Regions from separate parts of the Homo sapiens genome. Here region 1 is linked to region 2. The links are contacts of gene promoters, found by promoter capture Hi-C in blood cells and fetal thymus (Javierre and others, 2016). All regions are on one chromosome and are shown on one strand. Each heading gives the region's core, a stretch centred on a gene start or on the middle of the fragment in contact. The rest is flanking DNA. Distances are from core to core; before and after follow the strand shown. Region 1 holds the start of CCDC82 (coiled-coil domain containing 82). Region 2 holds the start of CEP295 (centrosomal protein 295).

Region 1 (3,442 bases), core at 1-2,500, 2.7 Mb after region 2:
CTCAAGAAAAGATTCATTCTAGAAATCACCTACTTGCTGTATAAACAATGCAGGTGGTAGTTAACACTTTACAGATTTGAAAGGCAGTGGAACCCCAGGTCATTATTTGAAATTCTACCAGGAGGGATCCATTCTTGGGTGTAAAACATCACTCCTCTTCGATGTTTTCTTTTATATGGCAGTTTGGAGAGCAAAGATTAATAAGCCGAAAAATAATTATTGAATATCTACCAAAATGCAAGCACCTGCTAGGAACTGTGCTGCCACCATTTCAAATAAACATGGTCTCTGCTCCCAAGGAGCTCACAATCTGATGAAATTACTAGGGACACCAAAAACAAGCCAGCATAATACACGATTTGAGGGCTACAGTGTATGATTAAGATCAAGTTCTTATCACACTGCTATGAATAAATTTATCATAGTTCTTCTATTGGCAGGAAAACAAGACAGAACATGACAGAAATAGGATATAAGAAAATAAACATAAAGAGAGGAAAGCCTATTTCCCCCACTTAGAATCACAGTCCAACAGTCCACAATTTCGCAAAGTGGATCCTGCCAGCATGGTATCCGGGATAACTATATTATTCATTAAAATCCGTTAACAATGAAGGTTAATGCAGCAGGAATGAGTGGTAGACAGTGGAATAGATCCTCTCAGGAATTAACACCCGGAAGGGTGACTTTCATGATTACAAACCTCTTTGGCGGGACGCAGGAACCCAGCGCCCGCTAGCCCACTAGTCCGTCACTCTGCCTCCAGGAGGGAGGGGCACAGTAGCTAGGAAACCGGACCCTCAGGCCAAGCTTCGCGATGACGCGCGCAGGACGACGGAAACCCCCAGACCCCAAAAGAGCTCTGCACCGAGAAAACAATTACAAGGGTCTGGAAAGGCCAGAAACCCGAGAAATCACCAACCGAGCTCCCTACATCAGTTCCAAGCACCTCCCCAAGGCGGAAATAACGGGCACCGCGCCCACTGCAGCTCAGCTGAGGAGGGTTAGAGGCGCAAAGGGCTGAGGGGCGTTCTCCGGCCCACCCAAAGAGCGCCCGCGGGAATTTTTCTCTTAGTCCGCGAGGAGGCACGGCTTCCCCCGCCCCTCTCATAAACCATTAGCACCGGGAGCGCGAGCGAGTCCCAGCCGGGAGACAGCCCCGCACCGCCCTCGCGCTCTCACCTTTCAAAGCGCCTCCACCTCTGCCTCCGCCTCCGCCCCTGCCCCGGCAACCAGCTCAGGACAAGCGATGCTCCTCCCCCCCTTCCGGGGACCAAGGGAAGTCCCGCCTCTGGGTGGGGCGAGGGGTGGGGCCAGGCGGCGGGAGGGATCATCTTCCGGGAGCGTGGCTAGGGGCGGAGCGACTGCCGCGCGATAGTCAGGGAGCTGTGCGGGTCCTGGTTGCAAGAGAGGTGGGGAGAGGGGCCTGGCGGGTTTTGAGGGACTGGGAGGACTGTCCCGGCTAAAGCTGGCGCGGGAAACTGGGGCTGCGCGGCGGGAGGGCCCTGCTGCTGGGGAAGGAATCTAATATATCCGTTCCCCTGAGGAAGGGTGCCAGTCCTTGACTCCTAGGCTCTTCGGCTCTCTGTCGTAACTTTGGGGTGTGGCAGGGGTTAGTGACGCGCGGTTACCCGGGATCTGGACGTGCAGGAGGTTCGTGGCCACAATGGGGGTATAGTCTTTCTCACGGCTGCTGGGGTAATAAAACACATGCTTTTAATCCGGATTATCCGCGGTGACATGGGGCCTCCGCTACTGCCCGTATAAGTTAAAGAAAGGCCTGTTCTCTCAAACTTCCTCCTCTTTCACCTTCTTCTGCAGTCTATTTGCCAGCCAACCCCAGCCCGGGAGGGGATCAGGGCCACCAGGTTGCTGGTAAGGATGAAAGACTGAGTGTGTTAAGACTGTTGAAGTGAGCCTGTGTAAGAGAAGGAAGGATTTTGTGGATTGCTACATTGTGAGTGTGGGGTGAGTCCCAGAACCTCGCTATGTCAGGGAAACGGAAGCGTGTGGTGTTGACTATTAAAGATAAGCTTGATATAATAAAGAAACTTGAAGACGGAGGTTCTTCCAAACAACTGGCAGTGATTTATGGAATTGGTGAAACAACAGTTCGGGATATAAGAAAAAATAAGGAAAAGATTATAACTTATGCAAGCAGTTCTGATTCCACAAGTCTTTTGGCCAAGAGGAAATCTATGAAGCCATCCATGTATGAGGAATTGGACAGGGCAATGCTGGAATGGTTCAACCAGCAAAGAGCAAAAGGGAATCCCATATCTGGACCAATTTGTGCAAAAAGGGCAGAGTTCTTCTTTTATGCTTTGGGAATGGATGGTGATTTTAACCCCTCTGCCGGTTGGCTAACTCGTTTTAAGCAGCGGCACAGCATTAGAGAGATTAACATTAGAAATGAAAGATTAAATGGAGATGAGACTGCGGTGGAAGATTTTTGTAATAACTTTCGAGATTTTATTGAACGAGAGAATTTACAGCCTGAACAAATCTACAATGCAGATGAAACTGGACTCTTTTGGAAGTGCTTGCCTTCTAGGATTTCAGTAATCAAAGGTAAATGCACTGTCCCTGGGCACAAATCAATTGAAGAAAGAGTCACAATCATGTGTTGTGCCAATGCAACAGGTTTACACAAACTTAAACTTTGTGTTGTGGGGAAAGCAAAGAAACCTCGCTCCTTTAAATCAACTGACACCTTAAACCTGCCAGTCTCTTATTTCAGCCAAAAAGGTGCATGGATGGATCTTTCCATTTTCCGACAATGGTTTGATAAAATTTTTGTGCCGCAAGTTCGAGAGTATTTAAGATCTAAAGGCTTGCAGGAAAAGGCTGTGCTCTTGTTGGATAATTCACCAACACATCCAAATGAAAATGTCCTAAGGTCAGATGATGGCCAAATATTTGCTAAATATTTACCACCTAATGTGGCCTCATTGATTCAGCCTTCAGATCAGGGAGTCATAGCAACGATGAAGAGAAATTATCGTGCAGGTCTTCTCCAGAACAACTTGGAAGAAGGTAATGACCTGAAATCATTCTGGAAGAAGCTAACTCTGTTGGATGCACTTTATGAAATAGCAATGGCATGGAACTTAGTAAAACCAGTTACCATTAGCAGAGCATGGAAGAAGATTCTCCCTATGGTAGAGGAGAAAGAGAGCCTGGACTTTGATGTTGAAGATATTTCTGTGGCTACTGTGGCTGCCATTTTACAACACACCAAAGGATTGGAAAATGTGACTACTGAGAACCTTGAAAAATGGCTTGAAGTAGACAGTACTGAACCAGGCTATGAAGTGTTAACTGATAGCGAAATCATCAGAAGAGCACAAGGCCAGGCAGATGAATCCAGTGAAAATGAGGAGGAGGAAATAGAACTAATTCCAGAGAAACATATTAATCATGCAGCTGCCCTCCAGTGGAC
Region 2 (3,611 bases), core at 1,076-3,575:
AAAAACAGAACAAGTCTCGATTCAAAATCTCCAAGTGTAGAATTTCTGCCAAGGATGCAGGTTGAGGAAGTGAAGCATGTAATTTGGTCATTTATTCAGCTTTGTTCATTTATGCCAGGCAACTGAACAAAGTGCACTCCTGGTTCTCAAGAAACTTAGAGTGTAATCAATAGAGAGCCCTCTAAACAGCTCATTTCAATAAGAACTCCTAAGTGCCATGGGGCAGCATGTGCAGGAACCCATGTCCAGGCACTAAACCTAGCCCAAGGGATGAAATAATATGCACATGTTTTATCGGGTATGGAAGAGTATCTCCGTGCCTGTATGGAGGATGCTGAAAAAATGTTTAAAATGAATACAAATATTCTTCAAGATAAATGTGACAGGAAATGGGGAGAGAGGCTGAGAAGAACCCTAATATTTGGGAAGGAAACGTGAATTCTAGTCCTGGTTCACCCTTGACTGAAATGTGCCCTTGGCCAAGTTGCTGAATCTCTCTGTAACTCAGTATCCTGATCTGTAAATCTGAGGTGGAATCACACTATTTCTTCCTGTACCTTCCTTCCTCCTACTCCATCCCTTTAAGTTTTGGTGTTCCTCGGAGTTTGGTTCTTTGCTCATTGCTCTTCTCACTCTGCAAATTCTCCCTAAGTGATCTCATCCATTCCGCTAGCGTTTGTTATTACTCATGTAACAAGGAAATCCCTTTATGCTTAGCCTAGTTCTTTCTGTGGGCTATCTACCGATGTATTCATCTGCTTACAGTACATCACTGGATGTTCTACAGGCACATGAAGTTCAATATACACAGAGCTTGGCTCATCACCCTACCCACTTAACTGCCATTTCTGATTTCTCCCTTTACAATCAAGAATCAACACTGCTACCCAAGCTAGTGGCCTATGAAATCAACTTCACTTTCCCTTTTCTCTCAATCTCACATGCAATTGTTTGTCAAGTACTGCTAATTTTGTGTCCTAAGTTTCTGAAATGCATCCCTTTGTCTAGATATCTCATAAACAGCTCAAATTCAAAATATTCAAAGCTTAACTTATTACTTCTCCCTCCTGGTTCTCTTCATGTGTGTTCCAGGAGGATGTTATCACTATCTACCCAGGTGCTAGGTATCTGGGACTTGGGCATCACCCTTGTTTTCTCCTCTTGTGCCTCCCATAACCAGGTAACCACCAATTCCTGATGTTTGGCTTCCTATTCAATCTACTCACCTCTCTCCATTCTCATTGCTATTATCTTTCACTTTCTGTAGTAGTATACGGCCTTCTGTCTTCACTCTCTCTGACCTTTTCCCCACTGTGCAGCCAGATCTGATCGTGTCAGCAACTTCCCATCCCCACCCCCCATTTTTAATCCTTTGATTCCTGATGTTTAACCCCCATGACCCAGACTGCAAAATCTAGTATAGGCATCATAATCCATCCAGAGTAACATAATGTACTCGGCACATAACAGATACTCAATAGGTATTAACCTGTGCTCACCGCCTGATTATTGGTTATTTACAGCAGATAAATCCGTGAGGTGCTCTCCGTGCGCTGTACCTCTGGAGGCACAGGGTAACATACGGCTCATTGTTGTTATGAGCTGGAGGCCTTAAATGAAAGCTATAAGACGTTAACTGCGCATAATAGTACCAATGAATTCCGTAGTCAGTACAGAAAAGGATGCATATCCCAAGATATCTTCATGATGGGGCCTTAAAACAAAAGTCACCCTCATGGCTCTGCACTTTTTTTTTTTTTTTTTAGACAGGCTTTGGCTCTGTCGCCCAGGCTGGAGTGCAGTACTGGCGGGATCTCGGCTCACTGCAACCTCCACCTCCTGGGTTCAAGCGATTCTCCTGCCTCAGCCTCCCGAGTAGCTGGGATTACAGGCGCCCACCACCACGCACGGCTAATTTTTGCTGTTGTCGTATTTTTTGTAAAGATGAGGTTTCACCATGTTTTTAAAAGGACTTGGTCTTGAACTCATAACCAAAAATACATAACCTCGAACTCTTGGGCTCAAGTGATCCTCCCGCCTTGGCCTCCCAAAGTGCTGGGATTACAGGCGCGAGCCACCGAGCGCGGCCCATACGGGAAAACGTCAAAGCCTGACAGGTGTGACAAATAATGGGCCCCTAGGCAGGCTGGGGCTGGCGCGTGCCTGTGCGCGTGCGCGGGGCGCGGGGTTTTTAACACCGCGCAGCCTTCCCGGCGGCCCCCGAGGAAGGCGGGACAGGGCCTATTCCCGCGGTTTGGTCCGGCCATTGGCGGGCGGTTTGAATGACGGAAGTGACGGCGGCTCGGCGATGGCTCTCCCGCAGGCGCAGAAACGGCTGCTGGGCAGCTGATGGGCAGGAGCTTACCAGGCTGGCTTGCTCTGAGCTGCGGTTACTGTGTCCAGGCCCCGGGTTCTCAGGTGAGTCAGGGATGCACTGGCTTCCCAGTCGCCCCGTAGGAGCATGACTCCCCGAGGCCCAAGAGCTGGGATTGTATTCCGGAGGAATGGGATCCCAGGAAGGCGCCTTGTTGCGAACGCAGGTACGGCTCGCGTTTCTCAGGCTCCGCAGGCCGTGGGCCCTGCCCGCGGTCGGGCTGGCGGCTGTAAGGAGTGTCCGGACCAGACCCGGTAACTCAGTGCGAGAGGCTTTGCGCGCTCTCCTGGGGTCGGGTCGCGCGAGCTTCCCACGCAGCCTCCCCTGTCGCGGAGCTTCCGTGTCGGGGGAGGGGCGCTTCCCCCAGATCACCCGCGGACATGGCCTGCCACCTGGTAGCTGTTAAAAGAGCCTTGCCTGGATCGTTTCATGCAAAGAGCACGCTCTCTTTTGGTGTCTGCCACCTTAATCTCACAGTTATTCAATCCTGTCACAAACTCAACTTTTAAAACAATGGTGAACTTTTGAGTCCTTAATACTTAGAGTGTATTTGAAGACTTCACGCTAAGTCACATAGACGTCAGAACAAACCTTTTGGGGTAGATATTATTATTCCCTTTATACAGTTTAAGAAAACGAAACCAAAGTGACTTCAGTGACTTGGCCAGTATCTTCCTGCTAATAAGTGGCAGTGTTGGGTCTTGAACCCAGATCTTCCAAGTTTAGTGTTAATTTTGTGATTACTATGTACCAGGAGCCATTTAATCCTCAGGACGAAATCTTGCAAGATAAGTAGTATAATCTTCAATATTGGATAGTAATAAAATGTAGAATTTAAAAATCCATATTACTAAGAATAAATAATTAATAAACAAGTAAATGGGGCAGCAGGGAAAACTTCCTTACAGCAGGATTCCGATTGATAATTGTAGAAGGAATAATGGAAATAGAAAATACTATTTGGTAAACACCACAGTAGTTGTTTCAGACAACAGTCATCAATGGATACTAACGTCAATGGGCAAAAGTATGATGAAAAGCATATTTCTGTAGCCTCTACTCTGTCTTCATGAGATATTTATAAAGGAAAAGTAGTAACTACAGAGGAGAAACCTGGTGGACATCATCTTAACCAAGTGACCAAAATTCAGCATCATTTACCTCTTGATAACAATGCACTGAAAAGGTGCCTAATCAATTCTGTGGTGTTCTTGCCAAAAATACATAACCTCAGTTT

Evidence for each region. The method cuts DNA at HindIII sites, captures the fragments that hold promoters and counts their contacts. A CHiCAGO score of 5 or more calls a contact.
Region 1: a contact is called between the fragment with the promoter of CCDC82 here and the fragment with the promoter of CEP295 in region 2, in 3 of 17 cell types (total CD8 T cells, total B cells and fetal thymus). The highest score is 7.9, in total CD8 T cells.

What each region holds. Positions count from the first base shown.
Region 1 is chr11:96,388,662-96,392,103 of GRCh38, forward strand. It overlaps CCDC82 (coiled-coil domain containing 82), which reads right to left and starts at 1,251. Exons shown (of 10, transcript NM_024725.4): 1 at 1,183-1,251. JRKL (JRK like) reads left to right here and starts at 1,352. Exons shown (of 2, transcript NM_001261833.2): 1 at 1,352-1,412; 2 at 1,822-3,442. The coding sequence starts at 1,989. RefSeq lists a silencer at 1,165-1,424. The HindIII fragment of the contact is 1,223 bases long and covers 809-2,031 here.
Region 2 is chr11:93,659,357-93,662,967 of GRCh38, forward strand. CEP295 (centrosomal protein 295) reads left to right here and starts at 2,326. Exons shown (of 30, transcript NM_033395.2): 1 at 2,326-2,418. RefSeq lists a silencer at 2,090-2,159 and an enhancer at 2,320-2,449. The HindIII fragment of the contact is 3,556 bases long and covers 1,044-3,611 here.